2 separate regions of the Homo sapiens genome follow, and region 2 is linked to region 1. Evidence: promoter capture Hi-C in 16 types of primary human blood cells and fetal thymus (Javierre and others, 2016). All regions are on one chromosome and are shown on one strand. Each heading gives the region's core, a stretch centred on a gene start or on the middle of the fragment in contact. The rest is flanking DNA. Distances are from core to core; before and after follow the strand shown.

Region 1 (3,446 bases), core at 590-3,089:
AGAGACCAAAATGGGCTTCCCACTCTTTCCCAAGTTAGATTTTTGAAGCCACTTGGGGGAGATTTGAGATTGCAAAGACACTTACCCAGCCAGTCACATGGGATATCTCAGCAAGCTTCACACCTCAATGAGTGTAGAGTCCAAGTGCCAAAAAGAGTGAGGTGAGAGGTGTTCAGCTACCTTTAATCTATTAACACCACCCAAGATAAAAAAAAGTATGAGCCAATGGATGTCAGACTTTACCCTTCTCACTAATCAGTTAAATTGCGGAGAGGAACCAGTGAAAAGGTTGGACAGATGGGCAAAAGGTTTCTTCCAAAAACGTATGAGAGGGCAGAAGTTCCAATTTTTTTGCCAAGCAAAACGTGCAAAAAGGGAGAAGATGGTTCTTACAAACTGGAAAGCAATCAAGACTTTCTGTGTCTACAGATTTAGAGTCTCATATATTTGGCAAATTTCAAGATGACCTCTAAGATGTTTTTACCAAATCGTAGACATAGATATGGAAATCATCATCAAATTTGATGAAGTACACAGAGGGTTTTGCTTCTACCTGATGAATGACCATGCCAGTTCTCTTGGAGCCATCGTCTTTGGCGTATTCCACCTGTTTGCCTACCAGGCTGTCTATGACTTCTCCTGGCTCCCTCTCTGCCAGAGGAGAATCATTGGAATCTTGAAGGATGCGGAGGTCACCATCTTTATAATCATCTAAGAGCTGGTACATATATAATACAGGATCTTTCTCATAGGTAATGTAAAACCATGTGTTCATGACAGGTGCCTGAGCTAAGACCATCCCCCTCCATTCATTTTTGGAACCTTCCTCTGTCTCAAAAATATGTTCCACTGCTTTGCCAACCATTATTTCTGCCAAGTGTGTATCACTGATTCTAGATGATGCAACTCTATTAGGAAGGACTTCAAGTGATGACACTCTTTCATCTCTGTGAAGTTCCAATCCATAAACACAGTCAAATCCATCATATTTGATAAGATACAGAGAGGGATTTACAGGTACCTGATCCAGAACGGTTCCTTTCCACTGTGTTAGAGGTTCATCTCCATCTTTCCATCCGTGCTGAATTCTGCAGCCCACGATGTTCCCCCGAGGCTGGGAGGTGGGTCGGCTCCTATGCTTCTTGTGTGCAGCCTTCCTCTTTATCATGGTAACAGACACACTGCCGTGGCCAGCGCCCGTCCTGGACCGCTGCCCTGCAGCTGCCTTTCCAAACGGGGTCTTCATGCCTGCGAAGAGGAGCACAGTTGCCAGGTGGACCGAGAAAGGAAATTAACAAAATCAATGCATAACACGGAGAGCTTTTTCTCCTAATCAGCGCACCCAGTAAACCCACACCTGTTTTTCCCGAAAGCTAGATAGCAAAGCTGGAAATCAAGGCACCCTGGCTGAGTGCCTGCAGTAACCTTCCTCCCCAGCTCAGTCTGGCTAAGATCTGCGGTTCGGTGAAATACGAAGCGTTTCCCCATTCCCCTCGCCCTGCTTCCAACACTACCCGGCCAGGAGGCGCAGATTCCCCACCGTCCCGGATTGCGGGCCTCAAGTGCACAAATCGGACACCTCGCCGTTGCCTCCGCAGTGAGCCTATGGAGGAGGAAAATCAGCGGGCGAGCAGCCCGGTGCTTGCAAAAGCTGGGAGAGGATGATCCATAGGCAATGAGTGTCTCTAAGAGGGCGGCGGGGCAGGCGAAGATGACCGTGGCGGCGTCCCTTGCTCTTGGCTCCTGCGTCCTCCGCCTTCCTGGTGGCGGCGGCGGTGGCGGTGGCCGCAGCCCCTCTCCCACATCGGACTCCCACTAGTCGCTGCTGCGCCGCAGTCTCCTCCTTCTTTTTCTAGCGCAGCTTCCGGTCAGTAGAGAGGCCTCCCCTTCCTGCCAAACACCGCGTGGCGCCCCTCCCCCACCAACCTGTACCACAGCCCTGGGCGTGGAAGGTGCTCCTAGGCTCTCGGTCTCGCAGCTTCCTCCAAATCAGAAGCTGTGGAGCCCACAACCACCTCTCTCTCACTGCATTGGTTTACCTCTTCTGGTTTAGCACGCGCCCCTCCCCTCACCTAACCTCAACCCTCTGCGCCCCTGCCCCTTCTGCTTTCCACCTTTCAGGAATTAGCCCTTTCCTTTCCCCTCCCTCCCCGCGTCCCCCCACCCTCCATTGAAGGGGATTTGTGGTAGGACAAGAGAAATGCGCTACTGCTCAGTGTTCAGGCTGCCATCTTGACCCAATCTACGTAATTTTTACTGACTTGTCATTCCCAGACTTAACTTCTTGAGGATTTCTTTTCTTTTCCCCTGATTGCAAAAGAATTGCATGCACAATATTGACACTGTAAAATTCAGAAAATTGACATGAAGAGAAAATAATTAACTAAGCCGGCCTCCCATTTTCCAGGGCTCACAGTGAAATATTAACACTATTTCCTTTTCCTTTTTTCTAAGCTCTTACAAAGCTTGGATAATTTTGAATATGCACTTTCATGTCCTGCTCATTTCCATGTAGAATAAACATTTGCTCAATTTTTTAGATATTTTCTGAGAACATGTTTTGTAGTAGCTTCATAAAATTAAGCATTAGGATTTTTCATAATTTTGCCGTTGCCTCCTATCTTCAGACGTTTAATTGTTAAATACCTATAAATTGTGCTTGCGCATGAATTATTCTGTTCACTTGAACAGAATAACCTAGACACTAAACTTAGAACAATTGCTATAATTAAAACAGGAATTTGTGAGATCATAAATCTGTGGAGAAAGACATTTTAGAAGTGATTCAATCAGTTTTATCGTTACAGCCATCCTAGTGGGTATGAAGTGGTACCTAATTGTGGTTTTAATTTGCATTTCTCTAATGACTAATGAGGATGAGCATCTTTTTGTGTGCTTGTTGGACATTTGTGTATCTTTGGAGAAATGTCTATTTCAAGTGCTTTGTTCATTTTTTAAATGAATTGTTTGTAGCAGGGCTGTTAATTGTTCTTTTTAAATTCTGGATGAGAGAACCTTATCAGATATATGATATGAAAATATTTTATCCCGTTTTGTGGGGTGTCTTCACTTTCTTGATAGTATTTTTGATGCACAAAAGCTTAAAACTTGGTTGTGCGTTTGGAGTCACACCTAAATAAACACTGCCAAATCCAAGTTCATGAAAATGTACCCCTATATTTTCTTGTAAAATTTTGTTTGTTTTTAGCTCTTATATTTATGTCTTTGACCCATTTTGAGTTAATTATTATGTATGGTGTGATGAAGGGGACCAAATTCATTGTTTTGCACATGGATATCCAGTTGTCTCAGCACCTTCTGTTGAAGAGACAATTCTTAGCCTTTTTAATTGTCTTGGCATACTTGTTGAAAATCAATTTAGTACAGATGTATAGGCTTATATCTGGACTCTTAATTCTATTTCATAGAATTTTATGCAAAAACCA
Region 2 (3,446 bases), core at 621-3,120, 710 kb before region 1:
TCCCAAGTAGCGGGACTACAGGTGTGCACCATCACACCCGGCTAATTTTTGTGTTTTTAGTAGAGACGGGGTTTCACTATGTTGGCCAGGCTGGTCTCGAACTCCTGACCTCAAGTGATCCATGTGCCTCAGCCTCCCAAAGTGCTGGGATTACAGGCATGAGCCACCGCACCTGCCATGTCACACTTACTATCTTTGTCACATAGTTAATATATGTGCTTTATATTATGAATTCTTTCTCTGCATATATACTTTGTTCTTTAATTCAAATGATAAGTTGATGGAGATTACAAGTTGTGTTGTATGATGTTCATTGGCACAAACAGGAGCTTGTTCAATGATAATACAAGGGTAAATGCTTTTGAAATAGGAAAATGGGCCTCACTGCTGAATTCCTTTACAATAATTTGTGTGTTCTAGAAATGAGCTCTGATCACCACAGGGTGTCACTGCCTTACAAGTCAAATTTTCCTCAATTGGTTGAGGTGTATATAGGAATTCTCAGAAGACATTCTTGAGAGATCACAACAAAATGTATAGATAGCAATGCAGCCATTGGGAGATGTGGAGATGCTATAAAATCACATAGAACAAAAAGTGAAAATTTAATTTACACACTCTAAACATCCCCTGAAATCCTATTCTTCTTCCCTCTGTTAACAATTTGTTGTATAGCCTTCCAGATCTTTCCTCCTTGGAGAGAGAGAGACAGAGAAGGACAGGCACAAGATTTAGAAAACATAAATGAGATCCTACTCTCCGTGAGCATGTGTGTGTGTGGTTGTTCAGTATCTTTTTTAATTTGATAACATTTCATTTGCCATCTTTTTTGTCTCATTACATCCAGCTTTATCTCATTCTTCTTAGCAGCTAATGCAGCTATTTCTGAATATTGAAATGATCAGTAATTGATGTCTTTAATCTTTGAAATGTTTGCCTTGATATAGTCCAAAGCTGTGATTCAGACTGGATTTCATTCTGTTGCTCATTATGTGAACACTATACAGTTAATTAGCAAACACTTGGGAGGGTTGGTAGGTGGTGTGTAGTAAGTTGGAAAACAGTTTATGCAAGCCAGATTGCCACCAGAATTTAGAACAGCATAAAATTAAATGCCCTAGGTAATTTACAGGGAGTAAAGGGGAAAAGACCGAGAGAAAGAGACTGTTAGAATACCAATGCATTTTTGTGTCTGCATTATTGTTTGTTTCTGATTGTAAAATAATACATGCTCATTGTAGAAGATGGGAAACAGAAAAATGTATTAAGAAGAAAGCAAACATTACCCTAATCCTACAACCCAGACTTATCCACAGTTAATATTTATTGTTGCTCATATAGCTTATTTCCTTTTTCAAAATTTTTATTATATGATACAACATTATGATTTTAAAGCATTTAAAACAGTACAAAAGGGTATAAAGTAAAAATGAAAAGTTCTCTTCCCACCATCCCTGGTCCTCACTTTCCACAAAGTCATTCACTGTTAACAGTTTCTCTCATAATGTACATTTAAGTGTATTGATATTGGCTTTATTATGAGTATACAAATGTATGGTGTGTGATCTATATACCATAATGGGGTCATACTGCGTTAATTTTTTTATACTACTTTTTTTCCATTTAGCTTTCTATCTTGAGCATACATATCCTATATATAATTCAAATACAACCCAAAGATTCTGGGCATGGAGCTATTTCAAAAAGTTTGACCTGACACTGCCCCCCATGCCATTACATGCCCTTGAGTTTCTAACCTTACACAAAAGACCTGTAGCCTTAGCTGAGGGCCCTTTCCAATGAATCACACATTCATCCTGTGTATATATGGCTCTATTTTATTTTATTTTATTTATTTTTTTGAGACAGGTCTCGCTCTCTCCTAGGCTGGAGTGCAGTGGCGCAATCTCGGCTCACTGCAAGCTCCGCTTCCCGGGTTCACGCCATTCTCCTGCCTCAGCCTCCTGGGTAGCTGGAACTACAGGCGCCCTCCACGACGCCCAGCTTATTTTTTTCATTTTTAGTAGAGACGGGGTTTCACCGTGTTAGCCAGGATGTTCTCAATATACTGATCTCATGATCCGTCCGCCTCTGCCTCTCAAAGTGCTGGGATTACAGGCGTGAGCCACCGCACCGGACCATATGGCTCTATTTTAGACTGTTTGGTAGGAGATATTAGAGGAACGGATATTATAAAGTGCCAAAGACCTGAGTTTAGATCCCAGTTGTATTGGTTGCTAGCTATCTTTTAAAAATAAAATGTTTTGAACAACTTTGTGATATATTTTTATCCTTTAGAGATGAGAAAACAGAGACCAAGCCAGGGAGAAGTGATTATATAAGATCACACAGCTAGTTTGTAGTAGAGCCGGATCACACAAAGGCCTATTTGAACAAGAGGCTATGTGCTTCCCACTCTAACATCTTGGACTTTCTTTAGAACTCCTGTAGGTAACAATGTATTGTATTATTGAAAATCAATGAGAGAGTAGATTTCAAGTGTTCTTACCACAAAAAAAGATAAGTATATAGGTAATATGTATGTTAATTAACTCGACTTAGCCATTCCACAATGTATATACATCTCAAAACATCATGTTGTACATTTATACAGTGCTTCTCAATCAATTAATTAACTTAAAAGATTTACAGGCATATGCCTTCAAGGTTATTGCCTAGCCTTTTCACTAAAGCCTTGATACGAGTTATGTATTCTATTATCTTTCTAGTATCCGATCATCCTCTCTCTGATTCTCTTTTTTTTGTCACATTCCCTTTTTAGGAGAGAAGCCTTATAAATGCACCTGGGATGGCTGCTCCTGGAAATTTGCTCGCTCAGATGAGCTCACTCGCCATTTCCGCAAGCACACAGGCATCAAGCCTTTTCGGTGCACAGACTGCAACCGCAGCTTTTCTCGTTCTGACCACCTGTCCCTGCATCGCCGTCGCCATGACACCATGTGAGCCGCACAGGTCACACTAGAGAAGCTGCGCTGGTATCTTTCCTGGTCGTGTGCTGAGGTTGGGACAATTTTTTCCTCTTTGACTTCAGCTTGCATATGGGGTTGAAGCAGCCCACTGAGCCAAGTTGAGGAGACTGGAGGAAAAGAGAGCTGGTCTCCCGTGGGGCTCTTCATATTCTACCTTCACTTCTCCACTGTCCAGACCCGTTTTTTTCAACCTCCACATGGGTTGAATTCCAGTGTGGCACCCATGGCTGCCTTCCCATCCCCCCCTGCTCTGAAATAGGACATTTTTCCTACAGTAACAAAACAGGAATCAAACTCAAGGCTGTGAACAAACATACGCTGCTTTATTCTTTCCAATTTTTCTCTTGTTTTCTAGAACTCTTATCCATATGTTTTTAAAATAAGTACCTAAAAGTGGTTTGATAGTGTCCTAAACGACTTTTTTAACTTCCTAAATGGAAAGAGCATAACAATGTA

The links. The method cuts DNA at HindIII sites, captures the fragments that hold promoters and counts their contacts. A CHiCAGO score of 5 or more calls a contact.
Region 2: a fragment that was not itself captured here is called in contact with the fragment with the promoter of SPIN3 in region 1 in 1 of 17 cell types (naive CD4 T cells); the score reaches 5.4 in naive CD4 T cells.

What each region holds. Positions count from the first base shown.
Region 1 is chrX:56,993,702-56,997,147 of GRCh38, forward strand. It overlaps SPIN3 (spindlin family member 3), which reads right to left and starts at 1,840. Exons shown (of 2, transcript NM_001010862.3): 1 at 1,515-1,840; 2 at 1-1,248. The coding sequence starts at 1,246. The coding sequence ends at 470. RefSeq lists an enhancer at 1,772-1,871. The HindIII fragment of the contact is 2,350 bases long and covers 114-2,463 here.
Region 2 is chrX:56,281,531-56,284,976 of GRCh38, forward strand. It overlaps KLF8 (KLF transcription factor 8), which reads left to right. Exons shown (of 6, transcript NM_007250.5): 6 at 2,783-3,446. The coding sequence ends at 2,964. Among named protein-coding and RNA genes, the nearest start is that of KLF8, 51 kb to the left of the region's middle. The HindIII fragment of the contact is 7,753 bases long and covers 1-3,446 here.